Linked DNA regions of Homo sapiens: region 1 is linked to region 2. The links are contacts of gene promoters, found by promoter capture Hi-C in blood cells and fetal thymus (Javierre and others, 2016). All regions are on one chromosome and are shown on one strand. Each heading gives the region's core, a stretch centred on a gene start or on the middle of the fragment in contact. The rest is flanking DNA. Distances are from core to core; before and after follow the strand shown.

Region 1 (3,839 bases), core at 988-3,487, 260 kb after region 2:
CAAGAGAGAAAGACGTCTCTCTCAGGAGCCTGGTGTCAGCTGCCAGCAAAGAATGCCAAAATCAAAGATGACTTCTGTGGTTTACCAGCACTACGAAGAAAGCACAGGATAAGAAAGGAGTGGCTATGAGCTATGCCAGGCCATGGCAGCCGGGGGCCTCTCTATGAGGTGACATTGCAGGCTGGGGCCTACAGAAGAAAGGAACTGGAACCCCAAGGGTGATGACCCCAAATGAGAGCTGGTCTGGCTGTCAGTGAAGAGAACGGAGCCATGCGTCAAAGTGAAAAGATGCATCCAGAAGACCTACCCTTGCTGCAAAGAGGCAGCCGGCCTCATTCTGCAGCCACCAGGCAGAAGGCATGCCCATGGGAGGGGAGGCCCTTCTGCATCTTCTGGCTTCCTTCCCCACCAGGCCACTGTCAGCCAAGTTCAGCTGCTCCATTCAACCTCCCATGAGAGCTGAAGCAGCATGAGACAGGGGACAGGCTCTCATCACTGTGCCCAACCAGGACGGTGGGAACAGATAACCCTTCTAGAAGCCTTTCCATCCCAATGATTAAAAGAGGAATGGGTTAGACCACAGGCTACAGCTCACTCCTGGAGCCGGATGCAAGCCTGAAACCTGACGATAAAAAAACACGTATTAAACCCAACAGAATTTGGATGGCAACAAACACCCCAACAGACAACCCGTTCGTGGGGTCAGTTATGGCCCACGTCCAACTCAACAATGACACCACCTATCTGGCACCACGCCACAGCAGACCTGAGCCCCCATTTAACCCTCATGAGCACAGGGCGCTGTTCTGCGGGTGCTAGGGGAGTCAGGCATCCACTCTCCTCCTCCACCTTCCCATGTCCAGTCCTTGTCTCTGAGCCTCCTCCTCCTTCACCATCAACTCTCTGACTGCTGCCTGAAGACAGTCACCAGGTCCTCAACCCTTACATCCTTTCTCTCTGGAGTGCCCCTCAAAGGTCACTTACTCCTGTGGCTTCAAGAGAAAGGACATAGTAGAAAGAGTGGAGTTAGCCAGTCCTGTGAATCACACACTGGGCTGCCCTCGCAAGCTGGGTATCTTGTGTAAATGCCTCTCTCCCCCTAGTAACTGGTTTCTGCCTCAGTGGGACATGGGACCAGCCCGCCCGCTGGGGGCCTGGCAATGGCAGTCTAAGGACACTCCCTGGTCCTGCCAGTCCAGCCTTCAGCCATTTGCCCAAGCTGTCTTCTCAAACAGACCTTATCCCATCCCGCTGGGTGTGGGCTGGGGGAAGGGTGACAAGTAATACAGGGGTAAACTGCGGCTGAGAAAGGTCCAAAAGGGGATTAGGTCCTATAAGCTAAGTGGTGAGAAGGAAAGACCAGACTTCATCGTGCATGTGTTGTGTGCATGGGTGTTCTCCCTCTACGTTAATAACGCCTGCCCTGCCCGGGGAAGTGGGCACTGAGCAGAGCAGGGGGCGACTCACTCCTCTGGATGCCCACGCAGCTCCCTAGGGCGCCCAGCAAATGGCACCCTGGGTGGGAACTGGCTTCTGGTGCGCACTAGACCTCCAACTGCCTGTCTGGTTCCCCACTGCGTCCCCAGATCCTCCCGCAGAGCTGGGGACAATGCGATTTCTCAAAACACGTAGGATGAGAGCGCACGTCCTTCCTTTCCACGTGGAGACAAGAGAATGGAGATAACCAGATCCCTCTCCAGCACCGGAGAACGAATTCACAGCTGCAGGCGTAGTGAGCCAAGGCCGCCCCATGCTCTGAGCTGCAGGCCCCTTTCTACAGGTCCCGTCCCCTTCTGATCCCATCAACCCGAAGGCCCACGCGTCACCCCCAGAACCCCGCTTCCGTCGTGACCACGGCGCACACCCCCGTCGGCAAAGGGAGGACGACGACCCCCGCTTGCCGGACCTAGCGGACAGGAACGCAACCCCGCCAGGCTCGCCCGCAAGGGCCACACGCCGCGCCCAGGCCCCCGCCCCGCCCCGCCGGAAGCTGGGGTCCGCAGGCCGGAAGCTGAGGCCGCGAGCCGGCCGCCGGCGCGCGCCCGCCCCGCCCCCGCCTCACGCGACCCGGGGACACGAGGGAGTCCGCGCGGGACCTGGGAAGACCGCCGCGTTCTTGGGAGGCCCTCCGCGCCCAGGCTGGGTCGACGACCCGGCCCCGCAAGCCGAGGGCCGCCCGCGCTCATGGGGGGGCTCACTTACGAGAGCTATGGTCGCCGTCGCCATCTTGCGTCCGTCGCGGCCTCCGCGCGCGCCTCCCACTCTTGCTCCTTCCGCTGTCTCGCGCGATCTGGGTGCCGGTGCACGGAACTCTCGCGAGGAAGGAGGTAAGAACGCGCTTCCGGGGCGGGGAGGAACGGTAAACGCCCCCGGGAGGGGCGACGGAAGGGGCGTGCTCTTGGCCGGGCGAGGGGCGTGGCCCGCGCACCTCGGGCGTCTAGGGGCGTGCGCCGCGGGACTCGAGTCGGGCGTATCTCTCCGCGTGGCCGACGCGGGCGTGCGTAGTACCCTTCGCCGCCCGTCGCCCTTGCGGCCACTGCTACGCTTCTCTTCTCTGCCTTTTTTGGAGAAAACGCTGTCGCGTGCGTCGTCCAGAGGCTCTCCCCCAGGAGGCAGGCGAAAGAGCGGGGCCCTCCTGGGCTGGAGGAGTCTCGGGTGATGAAAGGCCCGCGTGTTTCAGGCTGACGTCGTGAGATGCGTCGTCCCCGCGTCGCGACATCCCTGGGACCGGGAGGCCCCGTTCAATTGGCAGCTTTTTCTCCTTCCAGGGAACCGATGACCCTAGGTTGGCTGACATCAGTCGCTAGACCCGCAGCCCGCAGGCCCCGTTAGTCCCTGAACTGGCTTTCATGGCCCAAGGTGTCTGTCAGTACTGCTGGGAAAGCTGCCTGTCCTGGACATTTGCCATCTGCTGCACCCAGTCCCGAGACCCCAACTCGGTCATCCGAAGAAGCCACATCTGTAAGCTCAGGCACCTTCAGCTGCCTAAGGCCACAAGGCATCCCGGGCAGGCCTCCTTTCAACCCTGGGAACATTTAGAATTTAATACAGACACTTCTACTTAAATAGGGCAGAATATTCCCCGCCTCCCTCCTGAAACCTTCCAAAATTATAGGAAAGGGGTTTTATAAAGACAAACCCTGCAAGGGCAAAGAGCTGGGATATTGCAGAGCTTAAGAAAGGTGGACAGCGAGAGCTACTCCAGCCCACTTGGCTATGGAGGCCAGTGTCTGAGGGTCGTGGGTGAAAGCACAGCTACAGAAAGGAAACCCCAGACCTCTGTCCCTACCCACCGGGGCTGGCAGGCACTGCAGTGTCTGAGACGTGAGCTCCAGGAGAGGAGCTCTGAGGCCCTGCTCAAGCAAGGCCCTGTCTGAAAGCCTGGGAGTAAGTGAGACTCTGGGTCCTACCCCTGCCTCCACCCCTGGGCTGGGTCTGACCACCCGCATGCCATCAGGCTTCTCAGAGAAGAGGGCTCCTCTCTGCAGCAGCTCCTAGCTCAAAAGAAAAGACTGGCAGGGCACCTAGGGGTAGAGTGTTGCCCAGTAGAATGGCCCAGCCAGATCCCTGGCCTCGAAGCTCACCAGGTCATAAGCCCCAGCCACTAAAAGCATCTCACTCTTCAATGCAGCTGGACAGCCCAGGATCACCAGACACCTGAGAAAGAAGAAAAGGGACTCAGAAGAAACAGAGACGATAAAGGAAGCCGAAGAAAAATGAAAACTAAAATGCCATTCTCAGTCAATAAAAAGGAACTGGGGGCTATAGAGAAAGAAACCTCGGGATGAGAAAGAGCTCTTAGAAATAAAACATGAGGGGAAAGTGAGCAATTCAATAGG
Region 2 (3,216 bases), core at 473-2,972:
TGTAGGGAGTCCCCAGCCAGGGTGGAGGCAGCCAGTAGGACTCCAGCAGGGGAGGGGCAGGAAACCCCTCCCATCTCCCCCCATCCCCAAATCTCAGAGAAACAAATGAAGGGTTAATTGTGCAGACCACAACATAGCCTATCTCAAGCTGAGCTGCAGGGTGGGGACCCACTGGGAGTCCCGTTGGGTCAGCGACAGTGAAACAAACCTGGCATTATTAAAAAGAAAAAAATTGCCACAGAGAATAAAACCAAAGATAACTTCTGGGGCCAATTAACCAAAGAGCCAGGGGTGTCCAGGCACGTTAGCCCCCCAGCCTCATTCACCCCACTCCGGAGCCAACCCCAGGACGGTCTCCAGGGGAGGCCACCCGAAGATAGAAGGTGGCTCCAAGAGAGGAGCCCAGCATCAGAAACTCTGTGGCAGGAGTGTGGGGGGAGTTTGCGGAGCTAAAAATGAGGGGAGCGGGAATGGATACGGGGCATGAGTCATCGCGGGGCTGGAATAAGGAGGCCCTGCCCCTTTTCAGCTCCCTCTTCTGGGGCCAGACTCCACCGCCAAGCGGGAAGAGGGAAGGAAGCCGCGTGGGGACCGCAGGGCCAGGACGGTTGGGTTACCGATCGGCGGGCAGAGAGCGGGGTAGCAGCGCACACACCACGTCCCGCGCATGCTCCAGGGCCAGTGCGCTCAGCACTCGCAGGGCCGCCCTCCAGGGCCTCCCCTCCGCTAGGCTGGGCACCTGCGCCAGCAGCCCACGCACCAGAGCATGCACCTGGTGGGGAAGGGGGCAGACTTCAGCAGTCAGGCCTCCTCCACCGTCCATTCCCCTCTGGCCTGCACCCCACCTCCACCCCCACCCTGATCCCGCCTGGCAGGAGCAGCCTGAAGATGGCAGGGTCAGGCTGCGCTCTCCAGGCCCCTCCCACCACCTTGGTGCCCGAACCGGCAGGATTCTGTAGGGCATGAAGTGGGTGAAGGCTGACCTGGTCCTCCAACCGCTCGCCCCGGGCCTCCAGGGCTGAGGACAGGGTGAGCACTGTCGCCTGGGTCCCTGCAAAGCCAGCCTCCTCCAGGCAGGCAGCCGTGTACAACGCGAGGTCGGCAAGAACTCCCTCCTCCCAGGAACTCTGGGGAACCTAGGGCAGGATGGGTGGGGCGTCTGAAGTGCCCAAACCTCTCCTAGCTCTCCTCCTGGTCCCTCGGCCTCCCACCTGGCTTCCTACAAAATCCCTTGCTCCTCTGTTGCTCACCAGCCTGTTTCACGCTGACCTCCCCCGGGGCCAGCACCGCCCCCCTGCCACCCCGCCTTCCACCTACCATCCACAGGACCCCCAGGCCGGTTCGCACAACATCCCTTCCCTCCCCCGTCACCTGGTGGGGCCCCTCAGGGGCTGGTTCCAGGGCACTGTTGAGGGAGCAGGGCTCGCTGCCAGCTTCAGGGACGGTGGCCCCACGTCCAGGCTCTGCCTCAGAGGGGGCGGTGAGTGCCTGGGTCTGTGGCTCAGCCTCAGGTTTGACCTCCCAGGACTTGGGCTGAGGGCCTGCGGAAGGGGGTCCCTGGGGCTGCCCCTGCCTGGCCCGGATTCCTTCAGTCAGTGCTGTCAGGGTTAGAGCCCCCACGGGAGCCTCCCGGGCCCGGCTCCGGCCCCACACACCCCCAGCCATGGCGGCCCTTGCCTGCAGCACCTGCCGCTGCTCCTCCTGCGAAGTTGTGCCCAGGACTGACCTAGAAGCCGCCCCGGGCGGGACCACGGACGGGCGTGGTGGCGTGCGCTAGCGTGAGCTTGCGGGGGCTGGGGAGCCACACGGACGTGCCTACAATGGGCCTTTGAGGGGCCCTCCTGCCTGGGCTGCTGGAGGGGAGTGGCCACCTGCAGCCTGAGTGCCTGTGGTGTGGCTCTACCCACCAGGGCCCTGAGAACAGGATCCCCAAGAGCTGGCAGATCCACGAAGAAAGGGGGAGAAGGGCCCCCACCCTGACTACCAGCCCCTGTTGACCAGGGAGCTCAGGGCAGTTGTGGACAGCTCTGAGGAGGTCCTCGCAGGGTCCAGGAGTCTGGGCCCCACCCTGAGTCGAGGCCTGATTCAGCCCCCAAGCAGCAGTCAGCTCCCCACTGGGCCTGGGGCTAGGGGCTGGCCCCGCCCCCTGCACGCTGGCTCCGCCCCCTGCACGCTGGCTCTGTCAGACACCTTGCAACAGGCATGACTGGGTGAGCTTGGGGCAGCCCGGAGGTGTGGAGGGGGCAGTGAAGACACCAGAGGAGCGGTGGCCCCTCCAGAGCTTGTGCAGGCCCCTCTGGGTCCTGGGTCCTTGGCCAAATCTCATGTTGAAACGTAATCCCCAGTGCTGGAGGTGGGGCCTGGTGGGAAGTGATTGGATCCTGGGGGCAACTTCCCCCTTTGGTGCTGTTCCCATGATAAGACTTCTCAAGATCTGGTTGTCTGGAAGTGCGTGGCACCGCCCCACCCCTTCCTCCGGCCATGTAAGACCTGCCCGCTTCCGCTTCCACCAAGATGGTAAGTTTCCTGAAGCCTCCCCAGCCATGCTTCCTGTACCTGCAGAACCACAGGCCAATTAAACCTCTCTTCCTTAGAAATTACCCAGTCTCAGGTATTTCTTTACAGCAGTGCAAGAACGGAAGAATACAGCCACTCTGGCTGGGCCCCTCGGAGTGCGCGGGTGCCCTGGGGGTGCCTGGGGTGTGGTGTGTTCTGTCCAATGTGTGTGAGTCTGTATCTCTCTCCTAGCTCGTACTCCCCGGGGCTGGCTGGACTGGGCCTCTGCTCCAAGTCCCCACCCTCCACCCTCAGCCAACCACACAGTGGTGCTGCCCACCCTGAAGCCCGGGGAGCCAGGTGAGCTGGTCTGGTGGAATGCCTGGGCAGACGGAAGTGCCCCAGGCGGTCAGCATTCCCCCCACACCCTTGCCTGTCTGTGCCACCTCAGGCTGCTTCGACAAGAGAGGCCCAGGCCCCCAGCCTCCACTTCCTGCCAAGCCTAGAACCTCTCCCCCAAGCAGTTCCTCTTGAAGCTCACGTTGCCCAAACTGGCGGAACCCTGAGATCAGGAACTTGCTGGTGCAGAGGCAGGGCCAGCCCAGCACAGCCACGTGCAGTGCCACTCTGGCCAGGTGTCTGGGGCTGAGTCATCTCCTGGAGCTTCAACTTCTTCCCCATTCTTCCTCTCCTTCCGTGGGCTGCTGGGTCAGGAGCTGT

The links. Contacts are between HindIII fragments. The CHiCAGO score rates a contact against its expected background, and 5 or more counts as called.
Region 1: a contact is called between the fragment with the promoter of PUF60 here and the fragment with the promoter of MROH6 in region 2, in 7 of 17 cell types (erythroblasts, neutrophils, naive CD8 T cells and 4 more). The highest score is 10.8, in erythroblasts.

Annotation. Positions count from the first base shown.
Region 1 is chr8:143,827,078-143,830,916 of GRCh38, forward strand. It overlaps PUF60 (poly(U) binding splicing factor 60), which reads right to left and starts at 2,238. Exons shown (of 12, transcript NM_078480.3): 1 at 2,203-2,238. The coding sequence starts at 2,226. It overlaps LOC107986985 (a long non-coding RNA gene), which reads left to right and starts at 2,203. Exons shown (of 3, transcript XR_001746138.2): 1 at 2,203-2,327; 2 at 2,769-2,961; 3 at 3,632-3,839. It also overlaps a transcript of NRBP2 not described here. RefSeq lists a silencer at 1,956-2,525 and enhancers at 2,310-3,009, 2,330-3,529. The HindIII fragment of the contact is 7,973 bases long and covers 1-3,839 here.
Region 2 is chr8:143,571,050-143,574,265 of GRCh38, forward strand. It overlaps MROH6 (maestro heat like repeat family member 6), which reads right to left and starts at 1,723. Exons shown (of 14, transcript NM_001100878.2): 1 at 1,372-1,723; 2 at 984-1,136; 3 at 618-772. The coding sequence starts at 1,665. It also overlaps a transcript of NAPRT not described here. RefSeq lists an enhancer at 232-1,081. The HindIII fragment of the contact is 15,945 bases long and covers 1-3,216 here.